Linked DNA regions of Homo sapiens: all the other regions are linked to region 1. The links are contacts of gene promoters, found by promoter capture Hi-C in blood cells and fetal thymus (Javierre and others, 2016). All regions are on one chromosome and are shown on one strand. The core of a region is centred on a gene start or on the middle of the fragment in contact, and the rest is flanking DNA. Distances in the headings are between cores, read along the strand shown. Region 1 holds the start of RTL3 (retrotransposon Gag like 3). Region 2 has its middle 46 kb from the start of P2RY10. Region 3 has its middle 22 kb from the start of P2RY10.

The links. Contacts are between HindIII fragments. The CHiCAGO score rates a contact against its expected background, and 5 or more counts as called.
Region 2: a fragment that was not itself captured here is called in contact with the fragment with the promoter of RTL3 in region 1 in 1 of 17 cell types (fetal thymus); the score reaches 5.6 in fetal thymus.
Region 3: a fragment that was not itself captured here is called in contact with the fragment with the promoter of RTL3 in region 1 in 1 of 17 cell types (total CD8 T cells); the score reaches 5.1 in total CD8 T cells.

What each region holds. Positions count from the first base shown.
Region 1 is chrX:78,656,707-78,661,746 of GRCh38, reverse strand. It overlaps RTL3 (retrotransposon Gag like 3), which reads left to right and starts at 2,419. Exons shown (of 2, transcript NM_152694.3): 1 at 2,419-2,486; 2 at 3,099-5,040. The coding sequence starts at 3,327. The coding sequence ends at 4,754. All of the region lies in intron 1 of LOC107985670 (a long non-coding RNA gene), which reads right to left. The HindIII fragment of the contact is 2,616 bases long and covers 1,463-4,078 here.
Region 2 is chrX:78,989,298-78,994,337 of GRCh38, reverse strand. No RefSeq gene overlaps it. Among named protein-coding and RNA genes, the nearest start is that of P2RY10, 46 kb to the right of the region's middle. The HindIII fragment of the contact is 752 bases long and covers 2,086-2,837 here.
Region 3 is chrX:78,921,035-78,926,074 of GRCh38, reverse strand. No RefSeq gene overlaps it. Among named protein-coding and RNA genes, the nearest start is that of P2RY10, 22 kb to the left of the region's middle. RefSeq lists an enhancer at 2,160-2,279. The HindIII fragment of the contact is 1,564 bases long and covers 2,274-3,837 here.

The DNA.
Region 1 (5,040 bases), core at 1,170-3,669:
TGTTCTCACTTAACTAATTCAGGATGCTGAAACCACTTTAGGCGTTTTGACAAAAGTCTGTGTAGCTGCCTTTTCCACCCAGAAAAGAATAATTCTCTATGTTTAGGCAGTTTGAACTTGTACTTAAGGACGGTGAATTCGGTCTTTGCTGTTTAGTGTAGGGGGCTGGGGAAGGAAAGGTTTCTGTGTTTATACACTGAATAAATATTCCTGTAGGCAAGACACTTTTCAGTGCTTTAGTCCATGAACTTTTTAAACATCTATCTTGGCTGCTTCACAATTCCAGTTTTAATCTTCTAATCTTCCTGCTCAGGTGCCTCCAGTCCTGATTCTAGAGTACTATCTGGAAACTAAACCATCTATATCCCAGCAAGGAAGAATAGATAAAAGTTCCCAAGTGGTGAAAAACCAATGCTGTAAAATCGATGCACTGTAGATTTCTCGGTATGAGACCCCTTTCTCAGCCTCTACACAACTCTAGCATGTTTACCTATTCAGTTTCCCAATTCACAGGTGATTAAAAAGAATAAATTAAAATGAGATTACTGCTGCTACAGCTTATTATTATTATTATTATTATTATTATTAACCTTTATTGGGTGTTATTAGCTGCCAGACACTGTGCTAATCCTTTTTTCACACATTATTTCACTGAATTTTTGACAACCCTATAAAGTCAAATAATATTAATAACTTCATTTTACAGTTTCATAAACTAAAGTTTAGATTCTAACTATCAGAAGGATGAAGTAATTTGCCAAATTTGTATAGGGTAAGTATAGACAGGCATATAGGTATAACATGAAGGGCTATGTTACAACTTGATTGCAAAAGAGTATAAAAATATAAAGGAAAAGAAAATACAAGAAGTCGCAAAACATAGCAATTTGGAAGTTTTTAATTTGAAGACAGACCACTTTATACCTCTCAGTAGCTTTCAGAGGGCAACACTGTGTTACAACAGGGTAAACTAGCTGGTTTGTGTAAGTATGAATCCAAACCATTAAAACTGGATTAAATTATATGCAAAATCATTTCTTAAGAATGGACAAAGAGGTATAACATATGCTATAAATATTTCTCTGATTTTTTTAAATTGAAATACTCTTTATTAAATTTCAACTTGATGTCCAGTATTGAACCTTCAAACTCATTGTTACAGAAATTGCTAAACATTAGGAAAGAGTTTCAATTAATAGTTGTTCCCTAACTAAGCCCGTTACAAATTCAGGTGTTGGAAGTTCTCTTTTCTTTCTGGATAAAATAAATGTTAACTGTGTGTTTTGGCTTCTTGGAGGGCAGGAAGGCTTCAGTTATCTGAAAACTTCACATAAATAGATCACATCATCCCTGATGATGGTGGTATTTTTATATGTGTGGTGTTTCTAGAAAAATAAAACTTTGAAAGGTAAGGAAAGAATAAACTCGATTTGCAAAAGATTTTGTTTTTACTTTCAAAGCTTCTGCATTCGGATTCAGGTAGCCCAGTCTGTCAATTTGCTATGTTTTGGGCCTATTCCATCACTAGGGTTTATCCCATTATGCTGACTAATGCAGAACTGACCATTTGTGAAGGAGACATGGGACTGTGGTTGACATGATGTGTGATTTGAAATGGCCAAATGCAAACCTCAACCCCACTCCTTACTTGGATAAAAATAGTTGCCCCTAAGCCTTGCCTAAAATGGCCACATAGCCCATACCCAAGGCATAACTGTGATCTGGCATGAGAAGAGAAAGTGAGATTCTGAGCAGGGTTACTTCCCAAGAGGCCAGTCTTTAGTGAATGTCCTGAGTGCTACCTGGAGCACCTGATCAGTTCAGGGAAGCATGAGATCTTTGGTCCAGGACATTCAGAAAGAGCCAGGGACTCTGTAAGACTGCTATAAGTACCCACCAACACAATTGGTCTCCCTGACATTTGTACCCTTTTATACCTTTTCTAGATCTGTCTGTGGCAAATTTTCCAAGAAAACATTGCAAGGAAAAACCCTAGGGACTGAATAGGTAGTAAGCAAGGGAAGGGGCTGAGGGTTTGCAGGCTGTTCCCTGAGTGAGAAGTAAACAAATGGCCCAATTTGGACAGAGTAAGAATAGGTTAGATGAGACAGACATAAAAAATCACATCCCAAACCACTGTGGTCATTCAAAAATGTTTGCAACTTTTCACAAGGGCAGTGGTATTACTCACAATTTCCTGGCCAAATATTCATTAAAGTAACCAAGGACTGAGTACATGAAGCTGCTTCACATCAGCACAGCATCCTACTTTCCTTGCAGCTCTGAACTGTGAGGTACTGTCAAAAAACTCTTCCACACTTTAAAAAGCTATGTTACAGAGGAAAGTTGGAATGTGTTCTGGGAGTGGGTGTGTTTGCTTGAGTTCAGTGTGTGCAGAAAAGGCAAGCCTCCACAGCCATTTACACATTTCCCTCCTCAGCAATGGGTACACAGACAGCCAAGCTCCTGGACTAAGTCTCTGAATGGTAACGTACATTTATAAAGATTATTTTCTTAACTATTTTGAGGTATTTTATAAATAATATGCATGTGTCTTCTGAGGGCATATATATATATATATATATATATTTAGTCGACTTTTGCTTGTTTTCTCCTGAGGCTGGTCTTGTGTGGTTACTTATGTGGTATGATTTCTGAGGTGTCAGAAAGAGCTCCCTCCTACTTCCTACCACCCTAGTCACCCAAAAATATCTCTTGGGCTGGCCCACCGCAGAGCCTAAAATTCCCACATTGCTCAAACATTTGATTTAGTCACTGAAAGCAGCTGTTAAAATCCAAATGTTACATTGGGATATTAGGCAGATATTCAAGATTAAAGACTATATAAAACAGAAAATAATATTAAAAAGTTGCTTTTGATATAATGTTAAGTTTCAAAGGATAAATGCAAAATGACATGTGCAGTTTGGGACAGATGCTGTTCTTAAAATGTCGTGGAGTCAGATCCAGCATATATACCCCAGCTCATGAACATAAGCCTATGGTAAAAGAAACCCAGCATTGTTGGGCAGATTTTGTTTTATGTTGAATGTGTGCTTTCCACAGTTTCTGATCCTCAGCTCCCACTCTCTTCGCAGTGTATCTGACACTTCCCCTTACTGAGCTCCGGAGGCTCCTTCTTGCCGAGCTCCGGAGGCTCCCAGTGACCTCTTGATAATCAGCCTTGGCGGGGCCCAAATACCACCCCTTGGAAAACTCACTGAGCCTGACATCTGCCTGTAAGCAGCTTTCAGGAAGGATCTCACAAACACCCACCCAATCTCTCTTGGTAGCAAATTGTCAAATCATACCCATTTCCTCAAAAGATGGTGGAGGACTTAGCAGCCTCCTATATTGTTCTGAAATTGGAGAATGAAATTCGGCAGGCTCAAGTGCAGTGGCTGATGGAAGAAAATGCTGCTCTCCAGGCCCAGATCCCAGAGCTTCAGAAGTCCCAAGCAGCCAAGGAGTATGATCTACTCCGAAAGTCCTCAGAGGCCAAGGAGCCCCAGAAGCTCCCAGAGCACATGAATCCCCCAGCAGCCTGGGAGGCCCAAAAGACCCCAGAGTTCAAGGAACCCCAGAAGCCACCAGAGCCACAGGATCTTCTACCCTGGGAACCCCCAGCAGCCTGGGAACTCCAGGAGGCCCCAGCAGCCCCAGAGTCCCTGGCGCCTCCAGCAACCCGGGAGTCCCAGAAACCTCCAATGGCCCATGAGATCCCAACAGTCTTGGAGGGCCAGGGGCCTGCAAACACCCAGGATGCCACAATAGCCCAAGAGCCCAAGAATTCAGAACCCCAGGATCCCCCAAATATTGAGAAGCCCCAGGAGGCACCAGAATACCAGGAAACTGCAGCACAGCTAGAGTTCCTTGAGCTTCCACCTCCCCAGGAGCCTCTGGAGCCTTCAAATGCCCAGGAATTCCTAGAACTCTCAGCAGCCCAGGAGTCCCTGGAGGGTCTAATAGTTGTGGAGACATCAGCAGCTTCAGAGTTTCCACAGGCCCCTATTGGGTTAGAGGCTACAGATTTCCCCCTGCAATACACTTTAACCTTCAGTGGAGATTCCCAGAAGCTTCCTGAGTTCCTGGTTCAGCTGTATAGTTACATGAGAGTCAGAGGGCACCTGTATCCCACTGAAGCAGCCCTGGTGAGCTTTGTTGGCAATTGCTTCTCAGGTAGGGCAGGATGGTGGTTCCAGCTCTTACTGGATATCCAAAGCCCCTTACTGGAGCAATGTGAAAGTTTCATACCTGTGCTCCAGGATACTTTTGATAATCCAGAAAACATGAAAGATGCCAACCAGTGCATCCATCAACTCTGCCAAGGGGAGGGTCATGTAGCAACCCACTTCCACCTCATTGCTCAAGAGCTGAACTGGGATGAAAGCACTCTCTGGATCCAATTTCAAGAAGGTCTTGCCAGTTCTATACAAGATGAACTGTCTCACACAAGCCCAGCCACCAACCTATCTGATCTCATCACTCAGTGCATCAGCCTGGAAGAGAAGCCTGATCCCAATCCATTAGGGAAAAGTTCCTCTGCAGAGGGAGATGGACCCGAGAGTCCACCAGCTGAAAACCAACCTATGCAGGCTGCAATCAACTGCCCACACATCAGTGAAGCTGAATGGGTCCGTTGGCACAAAGGCCGCTTATGCCTCTACTGTGGTTATCCTGGTCATTTTGCCAGAGATTGCCCTGTCAAGCCTCATCAGGCCCTGCAGGCGGGAAACATCCAGGCCTGCCAGTAAGGGGGACCCCACGTGGGCCAATCTACAAATATGCGTCCCCCTCTCTTCCAATATCCATGTCTCATACACTATGGCTTACTGTTGAAATCCAACTGGGAAGAAGATAATTCTTTGAGCAAGCAATGGTAGATTCAGGCTCCTACAGAAACAGCATTGATCATACTGTGGTTCTTCGAGAGAAGCTGCCCATCCGCAGTAATATCTTCCCTCTGATGCTGGAAACTGTCGACGGCCATCCACTTATTAATGGACCCATAACTAAGGAAACATCACCTGTCCAAGTTCA
Region 2 (5,040 bases), core at 1,212-3,711, 330 kb before region 1:
AAGTCAGAAGATGTGTCTTTCATCAATGCTTTTAGATATAAATTTATGAGGAAAGCCTTAGCATCTTTGACAAGCTCCATAATCATTGTTTTCTGTAGTCCAAACCTTATAGTGGAAACCACAAACACTCCCAACAAAAACAACAAAAAAACCTATATTCAATAGCAGTAATTGGATCTTTGGGTGGCAGAGGCCAAGTGGTAGCAATCAACTGCCAAAGGCAAGGTCACTGTAGATATTGTAATGAAAAGCAGAGGTAAAATAACAATCAAAATAGTCTGACTCACACAGACTTGTGGCATTGGCTGATTTATCATGGTGTTCTAGAAGCAAAATAGACACAATGGGAGAAAATTTTCACAACCTACTCATCTGACAAAGGGCTAATATCTAGAATCTACAATGAACTCAAACAAATTTACAAGAAAGAAACAAACAACCCCATCAAAAAGTGGGCAAAGGACATGAACAAACACTTCTTAGAAGAAGACATTTATGCAGCCAAAAAACACATGAAAAAATGCTCACCATCACGGGCCATCAGAGAAATGCAAATCCAAACCACAATGAGAAACCATCTCACACCAGTTAGAATGGCAATCATTAAAAAGTCAGGAAACAACAGGTGCTGGAGAGGATGTGGAGAAACAGGAACACTTTTACACTGTTGGTGGGACTGTAAACTAGTTCAACCATTGTGGAAGTCAGTGTGGCAATTCCTCAGGGATCTAGAACTAGAAATACCATTGACCCAGCCATCCCATTACTGGGTATATACCCAAAGGATTATAAATCATGCTGCTATAAAGACACATGCACACGTATGTTTATTGCGGCACTATTCACAATAGCAAAGACTTAGAACCAACCCAAATGTCCAACAATGATAGACTGGATTAAGAAAATGTGGCACATATACACCATGGAATACTATGCAGCCATAAAAAATGATGAGTTCATGTCGTTTGTAGGGACATGGATGAAATTGGAAATCATCATTCTCAGTAAACTATCGCAAGGACAAAAAACCAAACACCGCATGTTCTCACTCATAGGTGGGAATTGAACAATGAGAACACATGGACACAAGAAGGGGAACATCACACTATGCGGACTGTTGTGGGGTGGGGGGACGGGGGAGGGATAGCATTAGGAGATATACCTAATGCTAAATGACGAGTTAATGGATGCAGCACACCAGCATGGCACATGTATGCATATGTAACTAACCTGCACCTTGTGCACATGTACCCTAAAACTTAGAGTATAATAATAATAAAATAAAATAAAAAAAGAAGCAAAATAGAAAGCTTACTAAATTCATACTTAATTTGCATAAACAAAAAAAGTTCCAGACCAAATGAATAAGTATATCATAAATCATGTAAACAGAGTCATGGCCCCTCAATCAATTTCCAGAGTTGAGCCTATTTGCAAACCCACTATCCCTTAAGTGAAAGGGACGCTAGATTTTCTTGAGGAAGGACCTTGGTGCACCACTGAAAATTTATATTATTCATATCTTTCTCAGCGTTCCCCAAAGGGTAACTGTGCATTAGAAAAAAAGAAAAATAATCAGGTTTTATTGAGACTCCAGATCCTTGCTCTGAACTTACATTGATTCTAGGAGACCCTTAAAGGTAACTGTGACCCCCCAGTTAGAGTAACAGCTTACAGAGGCCAGAAAATCAATGGAACCTTTAGTTCAGGTCTATCTTACAGTGGACCCGTTGGGTCCCTTAACCCATTCTGCAGTTATTTCCTAATTCCAGAATGCATAATTGGAATAGACATATTTAGCAAATAGCAGAATTTCCACATTGGTTTCTTGACCTATAAAGTAAGGGATAGTATAGTAGAAAAGGTCAAATGCAAGCCATTATCTAGGAAACTGCCTTTATCCAGGAAAATAGTAAATTAAAAGCAATACTGCATTTCTTGAGGCATTGCAGATACTAGGGCTACCATCAAGGACTTGAAAGATGTAGGGGTGGTGATTCCCACCACATCCCAATTCAACTCTTCTATTTGGACTGTGAAGAAGAGAGATGGATATTGGAGGATGACCATAGATTACTGTAAGCTTAGCCAAGTGATGACTCCAATTGCAGGGGCTGCACCTGATGTGGTTTTGTTGCTTGAGCAAGTAGACCCATCCCTGGTACCTGATATGCAGCTATTTAGCTGGCGAATACCTTTTTCTCCATCCTATTTACAAGGCCCACCAGAAGCAATTTGCTTTTATCTAGCAAGGCCAAGAGTATACCTTCACTGTTCTACCTCAGAGGTATATCAACTCTCCAACTCTATATCATAATGTAGTTAAGAGAAATCTAGACTGTCTCTTTCCACAAAATATCATGCTAGTTATTTAGATTAATGTCATTATGCTGATTAAGACTTGTCAACAAGAATTAGTTTTTAGGCACAATATATTTTGAAGGCATCACTCAAAACTGTAACTACAGAACTTCTATGAGACATCACTGAAGGACACTGGTAAAGGTAAATTTTCCCAATGGGCAAAACGTTGAGTGCTGCACCTGGTTGTGCTTCTTGCTTAGAAGGCAAAATGGCTAGAAATGCAATTATATAACAATTTATCATCTGTAGCCAATCGTTTGAGTGGATGGACAGGAAGCAGAAAGAAACATAATTGGAGAATTGGTGACCAAAAAAAATTTGAGGAGAAGACATAGGGATAAATATCTCTGAATGATAAAAAATTATGAAGATATTTGTGTCCTGTGTGAGTGTTTCCAAAGGATGAACCCAGCAGAGAAGGATTTAACTAATCAAGTGGATAGAATGATGCATTCTATAGATACCAGTAAGCTTGTTTTGCCAGACAACTCTGTCATTGCTGAGTGGACTCATGAAAACGGCAGCCAGAAATGAAGGTTTGGGTTATCCTACCAGATAAAGAACCACAAATAGCATAAGTGCTTGCCAAAGGGAAAGGTAATACAGGATGGACAGCAGAACAAAGTAGTTATAAATACTAGCTACTACCATGTAACCAGTTACAGAAATAAGGACTGTAATTGTCATGAGCATGTTTTTCTCATTTTGTAATGAATGACATTCGTGTGTGGATGTGAATTATTACACACACATACACATTTAACATATGAAAATACATATTTTGAGCAATTTTTTTCTTTCCCTTATCAAATAACTTTAAATGTATTGACTATATCAATATTTAAGTATTGTTAATTTTACATTGTAATATTTAAGTTACAGAAAATCAGGAAAAAATACACATCACTGAAAGACTTTACCTCCACTCTGAGGGTAGGAATTAATGTATTTTTGTTTGTACACAGAACAGTTGTATTACGTTAAGCAGAGTTATTTCTTTATTATTGTCTTTATTTGGAGATTAAGTATAGTTGAAGGAGCTGTGTATGCATGTCAAGTTGACAAGTGGTGGAATTTTGATGGTTAATTTTCTTTGTCAACATCACTGGGTTAAGAGAATGCCCAGAGTGCTGGTAATAGATTATTTCTGGGTGTGTATGTGAGGGTGTGTATTAGTCCATTTTCATGCTGTTGATAAAGGCATACCCGAGACTGGGCAATATATAAAATAAAGAGGTTTAATGGACACAGTTCCACATGGCTGGGGAGGCCTCACAATCATGTCAGAAGGTGAAAGGCATATCACAGATGGTGGCAGATGAGAAGAGAGTATCTGCAGAGAAACTCCCCTTTTAAAACCATCAGAATTAATGAGACTTATTCACTATTACAAGAACAGCACAGGAAAGACCTGCTGCCATAATTCAATTACCTCCCACTGGGTCTCTCCCACAACATGTGGAAATTCAAGACGATATTTGATTGAGGACACAGCCAAACCATGTCATTCCATCCCTGGCCCTTCCCAAATCTCATGTCCTCACATTTTGAAACCAATCATGCCTTCCCAAGAGTCCCCCAAAGTCTTAACTCATTTTAACTTTAACTCAAAAGTCTACAGCCCAAAGTCTTATCTGAGACAAAGAAAGTCACTTCAGTCTATGAGCCTGTAAAATCAAAAGCAAGTTAGTAGCTTTCTAGATACAATGGGGGTACAGGCACTGGGTAAATACAGCCATTCCAAATGGGAGCAATGGGCCAGAAAAAAAGAGGCCACACGCCCCATGCAAGTGCAAAATCCAGTGGGGCAGTCAAATCTTAAAGCTGCAAAATTATCTCTTTTGACTCCATGTCTTACATCCAGGTCATGGTGATGCAAGAGGTGGGTTCCTGTGACCTTGGACAGGACAGCCTCTGTGGCTTTGCAAGGTTCAGCCTCCCTCCTGGCTGATTTTACAAACTGGCATTGAGTATCTGCAGCTTTTCCATGTTCACAGTACAAGCTGTCAGTAGATCTACCATTCTTGGGAGTGGAGGATGGTGATCTTCTTTTTACAGCTCCACTAGGTGGTGCCCCAGTAGGAACTCTGTGTGGGAGCTCTGATCCCATGTTTTCCTTCCATACTGTCCAACCAGACGTTATCCATGACGGCCCTGCCCTTGATGCTAACTTCTGCCTGGACATCCATGTGTTTCCATACATCCTCTGAAATTCAGGTGGAGGTTCCCAAAACCCAATTCTCGACTTCTCTGCACTCACAGGCTCATTGTCACATTGAAGGTGCTAAGGCTTGGGGCTTGCACCCTCTGAAGCCATGGCCCAAGTTCTACATTGGCCCCTCTTAGGCATGACTGGAGCTGGGATGCAGGTCACTAAGTCCCTAGGCTACACACAGCACATGGACCCTGGGCCTGGACCTCAAAACCATTTTTTCCTTCTAGGCCTCTGGGCCTGTGATGGGAGGGACTGCAGTTAAGACCTCTGAAATGCCCTGGAGATATTTTCCCCATTGTCTTGGTGATTAATATTTGGCTCCTTGTTAGTTATGCAAATTTCTGCAGTGGGTTTGCATTTGTCCTCAGAAAATGAGATTTCCTTTTTTGTCACATTGTCAGGCTCTAAATTTTCCAAAGTTTTATGCTGTTTCCCTTTTAAAACTGAATGCCTTTAACAGC
Region 3 (5,040 bases), core at 1,806-4,305, 260 kb before region 1:
TTATCCCACTTTTTGATGGGATTGTTTGTAATTTTCTGGCTGATTTGTTTGAGTTCATTGCAGATTCTGGATATTAGCCCTTTATCATATGTACAGATTGTGAAGATTTTCTCTCACTCTATGTGTTGTCTGTTTACTCTGCTGACTGCTCCTTTTGTCATGCAAAAGGTCTTTAGTTTAATTAAGTCCAAGTAATTTATCTTTGTTTTTATAGCATTTGCTCTTGGGTCCTTGGCCATGAATTCCTTGCCTGAGCCAATGTCTACAAGGGTTTTCCCAATGTTATCTTCTAGAATTTTTACAGTTTTAAGTCTTAGATTTAAGTCCTTAATCCATCGTGAGTTGATTTTTGTATAAGATTAGATATGAGGATTTAGTTTCACTCTCCTACATGTGGCAAGCCAATTATCGCAGCACCATTTGATAAAAGGTTGTCCTTTCTTCACTTTATGTTTTTGTTTGTTTTGTCAAAGATCAGTTGGCTATAAGTTTGTGGGTTTATTTCTGGATTCTCTATTTTGATCCATTGATCTATGTTCCTTTTTTTATACCAGTATCACGTTGTTTTGGTGAAATATGGCCTTAGAGTATAGTTTGAAATAGATAATGTGATGCCTTCAAATTTGGTCTTTTTGCTTAGTCTTGCTTTGTGTATGCAGGATATTTTTGGGTTCCATATGCATTTTAGAATCTTTTTTTTCTAATTCTATGAAGAATGATGGAATGGTAGTAGTTTGACCTAAATCATTCTATGAAGCCAGTGTCACCCTAATATCAAACCAAGAAAGGACCTAACCAAACAAGAAAACTACAGACCAATATTCCTGATGAACGTAGATGTTGAAATCCTTAACAAAATACTAACTAACCAAATCCAACAACTTATCAAAATGATAATTCTGCATGATCATGTGGGATACCAGGGTTGCAGAGACAGTTTAACACACACAAGTCAATAAATGTGATACAGCAAATAACCAGAATTAAAAACAAAAATTACATGATCATCTCAATAGATGCAGAGAAAGCATTCAACAAAATCCAGTATTCCTTTTTGATTAAAACTCTCAGAAAAATTGGCATACAAGGGACATACCTCAATGTAATAAAAGCCATCTATGACAAACTTACAGCCAACATAATACTGAATGGGGAAAAGTTGAAAGCATTCCCTCTGAGGACTGGAACAAGACAAGTATGCCTACCCTCACCACTCCTCTTCAACATAGTACTGGAAGTCCTAGCCAGAGCAATCAGACAAGAGAAAGAAATAAAGGGCATCCAAATCGGTAAAGAGGAAGTCAAACTGTTGCTGTTTGCTGATGACATGATCACTTACCTAGAAAACCCTAAAGACTCCTCCAAAAAGCTCCTACAACTGATAAAAAAAAAAAAAAAAAATTCAGCAGAGGCCAGGCGTGGTCGCTCACGCCTGTAATCCCAGCACTTTGGGAGGCTGAGACGGGCGGATCACAAGGTCAGGAGATCGAGACCATCCTGGCTAACACAGTGAAACTCCGTCTCTACTAAAAATACAAAAAATTAGCCGGGCATAGTGGCGGGCACCTGTAGTCCCAGCTACTCAGGAGGCTGAGGCAGGAGAATGACGTGAACCCGGGAGGCGGAGCTTGCAGTGGACCGAGATCGCGCCACTGCACTCCAGCCTGGGCGACAGAGTGAGTCTCCGTCTCAAAAAAAAAAAAAAAAAAAAATTCAGCAGAGTTTCCGGATACAAAATTTATGTACACAAATCAATAGCTCTTCTATAAACCAACAACAAGCTAGCTGAGAATCAAATAAAGAACTCAATCCCTTTTAAAATAGCTGCAAAAAAATAATAAAATACTTAGGACTATACCTAATAAAGGAGGTGAAAGACCTCTAGAAAAAAAAAACACTGCTGAAAGAAATTATAGATGGCACAAACAAATGGAAACACATCTCATGTTCATGGATGGGTACAATCAATATTGTGAAAATTGACCATACTGCCAAAAACATCTTTTTATTTTGGTTTAGTAAAATTCCATTCCCTTCTTTCTTTGTGGCACTGGTTATGAGCTGGGCTACTAGCCTCTGGGGCCATGCTAAGAGAAAATACAAGCTGAAGAGCAAACGATGCTGTGTCACTATGAATCAGCAGCTGGGAAATGGAAAGACATTTCACTAAAAAATGAAAGAGCACTTTACAGGTTTTCTTTCAGTATTGAACTTTAAGAAGATCTTCTCCCAGAGCTAAGTCTTTAGGTGGTTTCCAAAGTGTAAATAAAGCTTAGACCAGTGCAGGGAAGTTCCTCAGCATGGTCTCAAGACAGAAATGACTGCCTAATGAAGGTCAGGTGCTGGACTGGACAGTGAGTTGAATCAGCTTTCCAGGAGAATCAAAGCTACTTGGCCAGTCCAAAGCTAACATGAAGTGGGGGGAGTCAGAAGGAGGTCAGTGGTAACAAAACTCTCATGAAGGAGCAAAGTAGGCAAGGAAAAGAGATCTCAGAGAAGAGTGTTACTGAGTCAGCACTGTCCAAAATCAGCTTATGAGCTGGACTTTGCTTTCATGCTGGGCGCTTATTTAACTTTCTTCAGAAAACTATGAGAAATGAGGTTTTTTGTTGTTGTTTGTTTTTTTAGGATACCCTCTTAAACTGTACAACTTTGCTCCCTAATCTCATTCACCAATGTATACTGGGCTTTGGTAAGCTATAAATAGAAGGAAGTATCAGTTGCTTCAAAACAACTTTAGTGTTTCAGAAACCAATTTCTCACTTCTCCCATTAGAAATATTAGAGTTTTATGTTTTCTAGTCCATGCTGAGAGAAAATTTTCTCCGTGTTTGAATATTTGTTTTACATATATTTATTTTCTCAAAAAACTAAAAAAATACTTCTGAAGCTCACATCAACCAAGTTGTTGAGTAATCCACTCCCTTTTCATGTTTTCTCCTTTGCTGAACTAAAAGTGGTATTTATAATGACATTAAGATCCTATGAAATTATTTTCCTCCCACTGGAATTTATTTATGTGTAAGAGGAAAGGGGTGAGTAGAGAGCCACTGAACTCACCCATCACCTAAATGAGGCTTGGGTTTGGCATTTTGGCACAAAACGAAGTTGAGCTGACACATCTCTGAGGTTAGGGCTTCCTGGCTGTTGTGTTCAAGAGGGTATAAATTATCAGTGACACTAGTGACACTTTGTTGAAGAATATGTTAGGGGATTCTGTGCTGATAGAGAAGAGTGCATAAACTTTGAAAAAATGCATACTTGACAAACATAAAGGAAATGAGAAGAGTGGAAGAGAGAAATGGATTTACAAACAATACTAATAATAGTAATTATAATAATGACAAGAAGAGGGGGATAGTAAAGAAGTGAAAGGTGGAAAGATAAAGCAGGTAACTTTCTGCTTATCTGTGCCCTACTTGGCTTTCTGATATTGGGACCAGTTGATTTCTGGGTAATAAGGTTGGTGATTCAGGTCCCATGAGTTCTATGTGGTGCAATACCTGAGGAAATGCTACTAGACCATAAAAGTTTTGTCCTCATGGGCAACTCGTGAGGCTTATCCCTGTGGAAACTTTTCCATTGTCATTCACATTAGTCTGTAGATAAGAGCTAAATATACTCCCACCTAATGCCCATAGAAAATATTCGTGGGCTCTCTATTGCCAAATGCCATCCTGGAGATCAAGGCCCCATGAAACATGACAGAGGGCTCTCTGATCCCACCTCAACTACACAAGAATTTTTAAAATCCAAACCTCTGAGGTGAATGTGGTAGAGCACTGCAAAAAAAGGGGCTTTATTCTGTGTGGCCTAAAATTACTCCATGTGGAAAGCTTTCCGTCACCGTATCAGCTAACATGATTATATAGGAAAGGACATAAATTTCAGCCATAGAGATTGAGAGAGTATATTCTACTCCACTGTGTCCAGGAAACTCAGACCTTCTCTTCCATCAACAAAACCCAATCAAATGGTGATCTGCTAATGGAAATTTAAAATAGAGAAAAAAATAGAAAAATCGAAACAAGTATTGTATTCATCTCCTTTCACTGACTCCATTGCTAGACATGTTGCTAAAATAGCTCCTTCATTGTAAGAGCTTGAGAGCTATTGACATTGCAGATAAGAAAAAAGGCACATGTACCCTAAAACTTAAAGTATAATAATAATAAAATTAAAAAAAAAGAAAAAAGGCTCTAAAGTTAAACTCAGTCTCAAAGTTAATGTATTTATGCAGAAACAGAAGGAGAATTAAAGAAAACAGTAGGATTTCAACTCAAGGCCTTCACATTGTTCCTAGGATCATGGCTGATTACACATTCTAGGTCTTAACTAAATGTCATTATTTCATTTGAAATTCAGTGGCAATATACTTTTTCTCACTTGTTCTCAGAACATTTGGTGAGATCAATTCATTTATCCAGCAACCTTTGTTCCTTGATTTACTTAATTAACATTAATGTATTGGTCTTTATATTGACAGCATTCAGATCAGTGACAGGATTTTAACATATTAAAAGTAAATTAATATTTACCAAAGCAGCATGAGTGAAAGAAGAAATAAAACAACACAAATAATTTCAAGTTATTAAGAATATTAATGATGTTTGAGGGAAACAAAGATTCAAATATTCTCACTGTAGGAGTTCCATAAAAGATAACAATGAGTAACAGGTTTTGGTTTGGGGCCTGATTGTGAAGGAGGATCTAGAATGCCCGACCAAGTTTGGACTTTACCCAAAAGGTAATAAATACCTATTAGTCTATGGGTTTTTGCACAGATGACAACTTGAAAGTAGCGGTGTTTTAGGGAAAAAATAATTATGGAAACAAGGATATACCGAATGATTGATAAGGAGACGATATGGAAGATAGATTAGAAAAACCACTAGAATAGTCGATTCAAGAGGAAACAGGGTACTAAATTATAGTGGAGAGATTGAGAATAAATCAGAGGAGACAGATAGAAACTTCTTGATAAAAGAAATAGCAGAACTTGTAGCTTGAGAGGCTTCCACTTTTCTGACTGTATTCATAA